Linked DNA regions of Homo sapiens: region 1 is linked to region 2. Evidence: promoter capture Hi-C in human tissues and cell types (Jung and others, 2019). All regions are on one chromosome and are shown on one strand. The core of a region is centred on a gene start or on the middle of the fragment in contact, and the rest is flanking DNA. Distances in the headings are between cores, read along the strand shown. Region 1 overlaps EYA2 (EYA transcriptional coactivator and phosphatase 2). Region 2 holds the start of SLC2A10 (solute carrier family 2 member 10).

What was found. The method cuts DNA at HindIII sites, captures the fragments that hold promoters and counts their contacts. A contact is called where the count stands out against the background at its distance.
Region 1: a contact is called between a fragment that was not itself captured here and the fragment with the promoter of SLC2A10 in region 2, in 1 of the 25 tissues and cell types used here (H1 embryonic stem cells).

What each region holds. Positions count from the first base shown.
Region 1 is chr20:47,167,315-47,172,249 of GRCh38, reverse strand. EYA2 (EYA transcriptional coactivator and phosphatase 2) reads right to left here. Exons shown (of 16, transcript NM_005244.5): 11 at 3,053-3,111. Among named protein-coding and RNA genes, the nearest start is that of MIR3616, 2.8 kb to the right of the region's middle. The HindIII fragment of the contact is 9,518 bases long and covers 1-4,935 here.
Region 2 is chr20:46,708,233-46,712,915 of GRCh38, reverse strand. SLC2A10 (solute carrier family 2 member 10) reads right to left here and starts at 3,267. Exons shown (of 5, transcript NM_030777.4): 1 at 3,176-3,267. The coding sequence starts at 3,179. The HindIII fragment of the contact is 11,113 bases long and covers 1-4,683 here.

The DNA.
Region 1 (4,935 bases), core at 2,373-4,872, 460 kb before region 2:
GTTGCCTGGGCTGTTCTTGAACTCCTGGGCTCAAGGGATCCTCCTACCTTGGCTTCCCAAAGTGCTGGGATTATAGGCATGCACCACCGTGCCTCGTCCCTTATTTTGACTTTTTATTTTTTTATTTTTTTTATTTTTTTTTATTTATTTTGAGATGGAGTCTTGCTCTGTTGCCCAGGCTGGAGTGCAAAGGCATGATCTCGGCTCACTGCAACCTCTGCCTCCCAGGTTCAAGTGATTCTCCTGCCTCAGCCTCCCCCTCCCAAGTAGCTGGGATTACAGGTGCCCTCCACCACACCCAGGTAATTTTTTGTATTTTTAGTAGAGACAGGGTTTCACCATGTTGGCCAGGCTGGTCTTGCACTCCGGACCTCAAGTGATCCACCCGCCTTGGGCTCCCAAAGTGCTGGGATTACAGGCGTGAGCCACTGTGCCCGGCCATAGATTTATTCTTGAAAAAGTGAACGCTCACCATTAACTCAGATGCTACCATGGGGAGATGTCTAGATGTTAGGAGATGGAGGCCCTTGGGGAGGGCAGGAACCAGTGTCCAGGATGGACAGAGGATCTGTTAAGAGCTTGGGTCCCAGAGCCAGGCTGCCTGGATTTGAATCCTGCCTTCCCTGCTGACCAGCCATGTGAGTTTGGGCCAATTGCTCAATCTCTCTATGCCTCACATTCCCCAGCTGAAAAATGAGGATGAGGATAAAAGCATCTCTCTCTCCTAGGGTTACTGTGGATATGCAATGAGTTATCCCATGTAATGCATTTAGAATAGAACATGGCACAAAACGAGGCATCTCTGAAGGTTGGTTCTTACTGCTAACTGAAAAAAACAAAACAAAACAAAACAAAACAAAAAAACAAACAAGAGGCATTTCATGTTTGGGACCTAGCATATAGTAGGTACTCCATAAATATTTCTTGAATGAATAAGTGGAGAATTTGGTCTCTAAGGAAGAAAACACCCTTGGGCTGAGAATTCTCAAAGTGAGGTACCAAACAGCTCAGCATGAGACAGGGTTCAGAGGACTGTTGCTCTCAATTCCAAGCCAGCTAGCTACAGGGGAAACTATAGAAACAGAACGGTGCTGCTCACTGCCTTGAAAGGAAGAGTGCTTCCCAACGATGACTTCATGGAAAGGACCAATTAACCTTGATCTGGGGTTTATTTACTCCATCAGGTGAGAAGTCCTGGTGGGGCTGGAGCTTTGCTCCTTGCCAGTCCTGATTGCAGAAGGGATTTTCCGAATGGCTGATTAAAATGAAGCAGGCATCTGCCGGCTGATCACTTCCGATTGTGCCGGGCTTTGAAAAGACTTGCAGGGCTCAGGAACAGAAATTTTGATTTTTGTTTTTGCAGTAAGTTGGGAGAGACACCTTGGAAGCAGCTACTAAATAAAGTTACAATGACTGATCCCGTAACCAAAACATTAGTTGGTCTAATAATATATCTGATGAGCCTAAAGCCGTTGAATTGTGGTAATTTTGGATGAGCACAGATTAACTATGGTTCCATTTTTACAAAGTTTTCCCAGGGGCAGGCTTGGAACATTCCAGCCCACATTCCTCTGGAAGCTGTCTCTCTTTTTTTTTTTTTTTTGAGACGGAGTCTCGCTCTGTACCCCAGGCTGGAGTGCAGTGGCACGATCTCGGCTCGCTGCAACCTCCGCCTCCTGGGTTCAAGCAATTCTCCTGCCTCAGCCTCCCAAGTAGCTGGGATTACAGGCGCCCGCCACCACGCCCGGCTAATTTTTGTATTTTTAGTAGAGATGGGGTTTCACTGTGTTGGCCAGGCTGGTCTCGAACTCCTGACCTCAGGTGATCCTTGCGCCTTGGCCTCCCAAAGTGCTGGGATTACAGGCGTGAGCCACCACACCCGGCCTGAAGGTGTCTCATATTAAGCAATGGGTTACCTGATTCCTGGAAGCCATGTCCTGGGAGTGTTTTCCCCTAGAAACCAGACACACCACTTATTCATTTGAGAAGTGTTTCTTAAGTATTGGCTGTATCAATTGTTATATTAAAAATATATGCATGCTGGTCGGGTGCGGTGGCTCACGCCTGTAACCCCAGCACTCTGGGAGGCTGAGGTGGGTAGATCACTTGAGGTTAGGAGTTTGAGACCAGCCTGGCCAATATGGTGAAACCCCGCCTCTACTAAAAAAACAAAAAAATTAGCTGGGTGTGGTGGTGCATGACTGTAATCCCAGCTACTCAGGAGGCTGAGGCAGGAGAATTGCTTGAGCCTGGGAGGTGGAGGTTGCAGTGAGCTGAGATCACACCATTGCACTCCAGCCTGGGTGACAAGAGTGAAAGTCAGCCTCAAAAAAAAGAAAAAGAAAAAAATATATATATGTATGCTAATGAATACAACCAAATATTTGGAGGCAGCTGCCTCCTTACGAAGACTGCTGGAGGAGGAGAAGCACGTGAAACTCTGAGCTTGACTACTGAGAAAAAATTGGTTATAACATCTCCGGACCCTTGATTGGAGGAGAGAAGCTGAAAGAAAGGGTATTTTCAACATTTTGAGCAGATCTTTGAAGAATATATACTAAACTCTTAATGGTGGTGAGTTTGGGAGGTGAGGTCAGGTTAAGTGTTTGAATTTTTTCTGTTATGCATGCATTACTTCAGTAAGCAGGAAAAAAATAGCAATAAATGAGCAGAGTTTAGTGATTTGAGGTGATGAGCAAGAGACTGTAGGGTTGAGGGGTGAGGTTGTGATTTTTTAAACAAATTTTTACTCATTTATTTATTATAGTAGAGATGGGGGTCTCACTATGTTGCTCAGGCTGGTTTTGAACTCCTGAGCTCAAGTGATCCTCCTGCTAAGACCTCCCAAAGTGCTGGGATTACAAGTATGAGCCACCACACCCGCCTAGTTGTGATTTTTGAGTCTGAGATGCAAAAGTCCCAGTTCTGGCTGGAGGCAGGCACTCCTTGTCCTTATAAGCAGCCCTCCTCTCCCACCCCACTTCCTAGTAGAAGGATAACTTGATAATCAATCAATCAATCAATGGGCATTTTTGACTCCCCAAATTCCCACCTTAAATCTTGGCCATTGTCATCTGATGAGACGTCATCAACGTGGATCTGGTCACAATCCTATGGAAAATTTGACAGAGAGAGAGAGAGAGAGAGAACATGCCTGGTTAATCTGATGTAGCCTTCAAGGGTTGGCCTCATAAGCTGAGGGCTGGGATGAGCACTGCACTGGGAGTCATCAGGCTCGGGTTCTAGTCTGGATTTGGATACTCAAGGTTAGAGGTCCTTGGGTTCAATCTCATCCTCTTTGTCTGTTTGGTTTCCTTATAAATGAGCAGGTTGACTGCAAGGAAAGTGACCATACAGATACTCTCCAAACAGAGAGAGTTTTGCATTAAAGGGGGATGGTATTATACTAGGGGGATAGGTTCAAACCAGGACTCCCCTAGGTCCCCAGCTTCCCAAGTATGGCCAGACATTTGGTCACCCTGGCCATATGGTGGACACCTCTGCCTCGCTAAAGGTGTTCCCCCTGCTTGAAATGCTCTCCTGCCTACATCTGCTTAGTAAACCCTGTGCTCTTCAAGTATTGGCTCCTGGAGGGACACCTGCTGTGCCTCATGATCTGTGATCATCATTTACTGAGCACTTACTATGTGCCAGGCACTATCCCCAGGGCTTGCCATTGAACAAACTCCAATGCCATGCTGTTTCCCACTCAGTTTCCTTGGGGAAACACCTCTCTCTGTGGGACAAGACCATGGGGTGGAGGCTGGGCATGGTGGCTCATGCCTGTAATCCTAGCACTGTGGGAGACAGGCGGGTGGATTGTTTGAGGTCAGGAGTTTGAGACCAGCCTGGCCAACATGATGAAACCCTGTCTCTACTAAAATACACAAATTAGCTGGGCGTGGTGGCAGCTGCCTGTAATCCCAGCTACTCGGGAGGCTGAGGCAGGAGAACTGCTTGAACCCAGCAAGTGGAGGTTGTAGTGAGCCGAGATCGCGCCACTGTGCTCCAGCCTGCATGACAGAGCAAGACTCTGTCTCAAAAAAAACAAAAAAACAAAAAAACAAAAGACTACGGGGTGGGGACAATGAAAACCAATCAGAGGGACCCAAGGTCCCCCTGGCCACAGTGATTGCTTCAAGGATGAACATGTGGTCTAAGGTGGGCCAATGGGAACCAGCCCGGGGACGTTGGCTGGCACTTTTGGAAGAGGTGCTGTCTCTTCCCTGGGGCTGCTGAATGGTGGATTAAGCCGGGAGCTGCTGAGGAAAGCAGGGCTGCGAGCTGGAGAGGGGGATGCCATGAGCATGCGATCTGATCCCCTGGATCCAGTCAGGACTGAAGCTGAGCCATCCCTGACTGTGCTGGGCCGAATAACGAACCCCCAAAGATGCGCACATTCTTATCTCGGAACCTGCAAATCTATTACTTTAAATGGCAATCAGGACTTTAGTTCAGTTAGAGATCTTGAGGTGGGAAGTTTTTCCTTGGCTGTCGGGGTGGGCCCTAAATGGAATCACATGGGTCCCTGTAAGAGAGACAGTGATCTGATGACAGAAAGGAGAGGGTGACTGGAGTCATGTGCTTTGAAGATGGAAGAAGAGACCACAGTCAACATACACAAGTGGCCACTGAAAGAAAAACTAAAACAAACAAAAAACCAAAGGGCCAGGTGTGGTGGCTTACACCTGTAATCTCAGCATTTTGGGAGGCTGAGGCGGGTGGATCACTTGAGGCCAGGAGTTTGAGACCAGCCTGGCCAACATGGAGAAACCCCACCTCTACTAAAAATACAAAAAATTAGCTGGGCATGGTGGTGCACATCTGTGGTCCCAGCTACTTGGGAGGCTGAGGCACGAGAATAGCTTGAACCTGGGAGGCAGGAGGCTGCAGTGAGCTGAGATCACACCACTGCACGCCAGCCTGGGCGACAGA
Region 2 (4,683 bases), core at 2,018-4,517:
TGGGAGGCTAAGGCAAGTGGATCACTTGAGTTCATGAGTTCAAGATCAGCCTGGGTAACACGGTGAAACCCCATCTCTACCAAAAAATACAAAAATGAGCCAGGAATAGTGGTGTGCACCTGTAATTCCAGCTACTTGGGAGGCTGAGGTGGGAGGATGGCTTGAGCCTGGGAGGCAGAGGTTGCAGTGAGCCGAGACTGTACCACTGCACTCTAGCCTAGATGACAGAGCCAGACTTTGTCAAAAAAAAAAAAAAAAAAAAAAGAAAGAAAGAAGACAGAAAGAAAGAAAGAGAAAAAAAGAAAAGAAAGAAAATTAAGGAGAACACATTAAGACGGCTTGACCTAAGTTTAGCAAGTGTGCATCCTTTCTATTAATAACCTGCCTAACATAGGCTGTAGTGAAGATGTCCCACACTGGAGGAAATCCCTTAATCCTCTAAGCCCCTCGCTGTGGAGGGCACAGCTTCCCCGGGACAGGGTCAGGGGGCAGGGGGAGGGGGGAGAACCCTGGTTTGGGATGCAAGTATCTCCAGCTGCAAGTCCTAGGCCTCCCGTTGGTGACACTAGAGTAGTGTCTCAACCAGAGGTCACAGAGCACTGGGTCCCTCCTGCACCAGAGACCTGCTGTGGCTTTCCCTGAAGCTCCAGGGAGAAGCCAGATGTGAAATTGAACTGTATGAATATCCTCTTGCAGATGGCCGGCTTCCAAATGTCCCAGCAATTGCAGCCACAGCTGATACTTGGAGTACCCACTATAGCCAGCCACTCTCCTAAGGGGCAGTATCTGTACCAGCTGGCTTAATCCCTAGACAATCCTATGACAATCACTATTGTCATTCCCATTTTACAGAAATAACCACCACACTGAGAGGTGAAGACATTTCCCCAAGGTGGCACAGTTTGTAAGTCACATAGCAGGAACTTGAACTCGGGCAGTCTGACTCCAGAATCCCAATATTGGGTGCAATATAAAATAAAAACTCACATTCACTCACCATTTACCAGATATAGGTGATGAGCCGAGCACTGTAATTCATTTTTTCACATCATTCTCATGGCTACCCTGTGATAAGGGTATTTGATAGTGACCAGAGAAGTTGGCAGACTCTCCCAGGTCAAAGTGGAATGGTGGAACAAAGTGAGAGGAATTGGGTCTAGAACCCAGTTCTGCCCCCAGAGGCTATAAAGAGAGCCCAATCCCTGGTCCCTGCTGTGTAAGAATTCTGGGGAGGACAGAGACCCGCAGCCATGACTTATGCCTCCCCCAGCACTAACACCCAGCCCTCGCTCTGCCCATAGAAGGCACTCAGCAAATGGCTGTTGGGTTGATTTAGCAGGAATAGGAGGTGCAGGAACAAGGGGCTAGGGCTAAGCTGAGTGTCCTTAAGAAGACCTTGACCTCTCTGGGCCTCATTTTTTTCTCAGGCTCTGGGGCACTGTGCTGTGGGGGTTAAGAGGATGGACTCTCCTGTCAGAGCCGGAACTGGTCACCAGTTTTACCATTAATCCACCATGACAGGCCACGTGGTGCAGTGGTTAGGAATGCAGACTGGAGTCAGAATGCTGGGGCTCCTTCCCAGCTTCTCCTCTCCATAGCTGTGTGACCTTGGGGAACTCACCTCACCTCTCTGGGCTTCCCCATCTACAAATGGGATATTAATGCCTACCTTCTATGCTTACCTACATCATAGCCAGTGTTAGCGACTGTGATTCTCCACAGAACGACTCAGAGCAAACTTTGAGAAGTTAATTCAGGGCCGGGCGCGGAGGCTCACGCCTGTAATCCCAAGCCGAGGCAGCCGGATCACGAGGTCAGGAGATCAAGACATCCTGGCCAACATGGTGAAACCCACTCTCTACTAAAAATACAAAAATTAGCTGGGCGTGGTGGTGTATGCCTGTAATCCCAGCTACTTGGGAGGCTGAGGCAGGAGAATTGCTTGAACCAGGGAGCTGGAGGTTGCAGTGAGCGGGATCACGCCACTGCACTCCAGCCTGGCGACAGAGTGATCATCTCAAAAAAAAGAAAAAAAAAAGAAAAGATAATTCAGGTCACGGCCCCGCTCCAGCTTAAAACCCTTCTCCAGCTTGCCGTGGCATTTGCAATAAAATCTGAACTTCTCACCACGGCTTACAAAGCCCTGCACACCTCTCTGCCATCCCTTTGACCTCAGTGCCCTGCCCGCTGTGCTCTGGCCATCCTGGCCTGGGCCACACAAACTCATTCCTGCCTGAGGGCCTTTGCACTGTTGCTGCCACCTGGAAGCTCTTTCTCCAGATCTCAGCAAGACCCGCTTCTGAGGAAGTTCTCAGCTCCAAAACGTCCTACTCCAGAAAACCCACCCTGACCACCTACCCAAGGAACCCACGCCCTTGGCCTTCACGCCACCCCATTTTATGGGTTCCACAACACCTTATCTCTCTCTGAAGTTATTCATAAACGTGTTTACCCAGCTGCTCAATCAGAATGCCACCTCCATGAGAGAGAGGTTTATTGTCTATTTTGTTCATTGCTGAAGCTCTAACCCCTATATCAATGTCTGGCACGTAGTAGGTGCTCACTCAAGAATCAACGACTGATCCTTCGAGGCTTCTGAATGCAGAGAGAAAAATAGAGCCCTAGTCCCGAGTGGCAACAAAGCCATTCCCCACGCGTCCCACCCCAATGCTGTGTTAGAATCTCCTTCTCTGTCCCCTCTCTGCAGAATCACGTCCAGAGGAGGGGGTTCGTCTGTTTTGTTCGCAGTTTCGTTCGCGACAGCGTCCCCAGGCCCACAACAGCGCCTGGGGCACAACCGCGCTCAGCGAATCGATGAACTGCTTTGCTTCTTTCGGAGCCTCCATTTCTTCATCTGCAGACCAGGAACAGCTGCACTTGCCTGGGGCTGTCGGATCAGGGCGCCCGGGAGAGTGCCTGGGCCCGAGTGGGCGCTGCAGCAAGTGAGGGGCCACTTTTCCGGGGCAGAAAGGAAGATGGAAGGAAGCGCGACCGAGCCCCGTCCCAGCCCCCGCCGCAGGCCTGCAGTCTCGGGCTGGCCACCCGAGAGGCGGTATCCGGCCGGGGCGGCCCTGGGGGAGCCAGGGGGCGCGCACTCTTAGGGGAGCGTGGGGGCGGTGTCTACACCCTGGGAAGGGGTCGGGCTTCCAGCAGGCAGCGCCCGATCGGGACTTACCCATGGCGAGCGGGACTCGGCGGCGTGCTGGGGGCGCTGAGGGGCCGGGCGCGCATCCCCCGCCGGAGTCCCCAACGCCGCTGCCGCCGGACAAACTTTCCGGCCCGCCCCCGCCTCTGTCCCTCCTGCCCTGCCCTCCCGCGCGCAGCGCCGCCAACGCCACGTCGGCCAGCCAGGCCCCGAGGCCTGGAGGCGGGACGGAGGGGAGCCCAGGACCGCCCCCGGCCGCCCCAGGCCTGGCAAGGACCCCCTCCCTCGCCCACTGTCCTCCCGGGGGCCCCCACCCGCCATCTCCCGGGTCCCCTTCGTTGGTAGTCCTCCCCTGGGGGGGACACACCAGCAAGCCATCCTCCCTGGTAGAAGACCCCACACGCACTGTCTTCCCCTGGCCTCTTTGCAGGGAAGAGGTGCCCCAATCACTGGTCCACACTTGTCTGGCCTCCCCAGCGTGCGCACACACACAACACACACAACACACACATCTACACCGAGTGAGACACTCGCGCATACCCACTGGAGCCGCTCACTCTCTCATGGATTCATCCCTCATTCACTCCACGCTTGGGTTTGGACACCACCACATACCAGGCACTACGCTAGGCTTGGGATGGGCCGAAGAACAAAACAGAACAGGTCTTTTGTTTACCTTCTAGGAGGGGAAGAGTTTACATTCTAGGAGGGGAAGACGAAAAAGAAGTAACTAAAGGATCCTGAGAAATATCAGCTAGTGATAAAGACTAGGCAGAAAGTTAAACTACGGTGGTGGGTTAGGCAGACACAGGTGGCTGCTTTAGCTTGCTGATCTGAGAAGAGGATATCTGAGCAGAGATCCGGCATTCCCCGCAGGGGGAACAGCAAAGGCAAAGGCCCCGGGGTGGGAAGGAGCTTATGGGGTACAAAAAACGCAGAAATGAAGCCAGAGTGTCTGGAGCAGAGGAGAAGACAGGGAGAGAGGAGGGAGATGGGAGCTAAGGGAGGGGCTTTGGTGGGCCAGGGTCAGGAATGTAGATTTCAACCCCATCAGCAGGACAGATAACTGGGGAGTTCTAACTGGTTAAGGGCCAGAATACTCAGCCTTCCCACCTGGGAGGCTGTTGCAAGGTGAGAAGTTGGTTTGGGCTCATGTCACTGTGGTGAGGTTGGAGAAAAGTAGGCAGATCACATATATATGCTCCGTAAGAACTTACAGACTGGAAGAGGGGCAGCTTGTGGCTGGGAAAGGAGATCCAGAGTTCTGTCTTGGCTGTGTGACATTTGAGGTGCTCAGCAGGCATCCACGTGGAAATAGGTGGGCAGTTGGCTATGAGCCTGGGATTCAGGAAAGGGGTAGGCTGGGGACACTGCCACTAATGCTCACTCAGGCAAAAATGCACGTACAAGCCCAGCACTCACATGGGCGCAGCCTTATCCAGCCTCTCAATACGTGTTCACAGATAGGCACCTTTGCATGTGCACCAGTGGCTGTACCCTCACCAGTCAAAGTCACAGCGACCCCTACCGTACAGGTG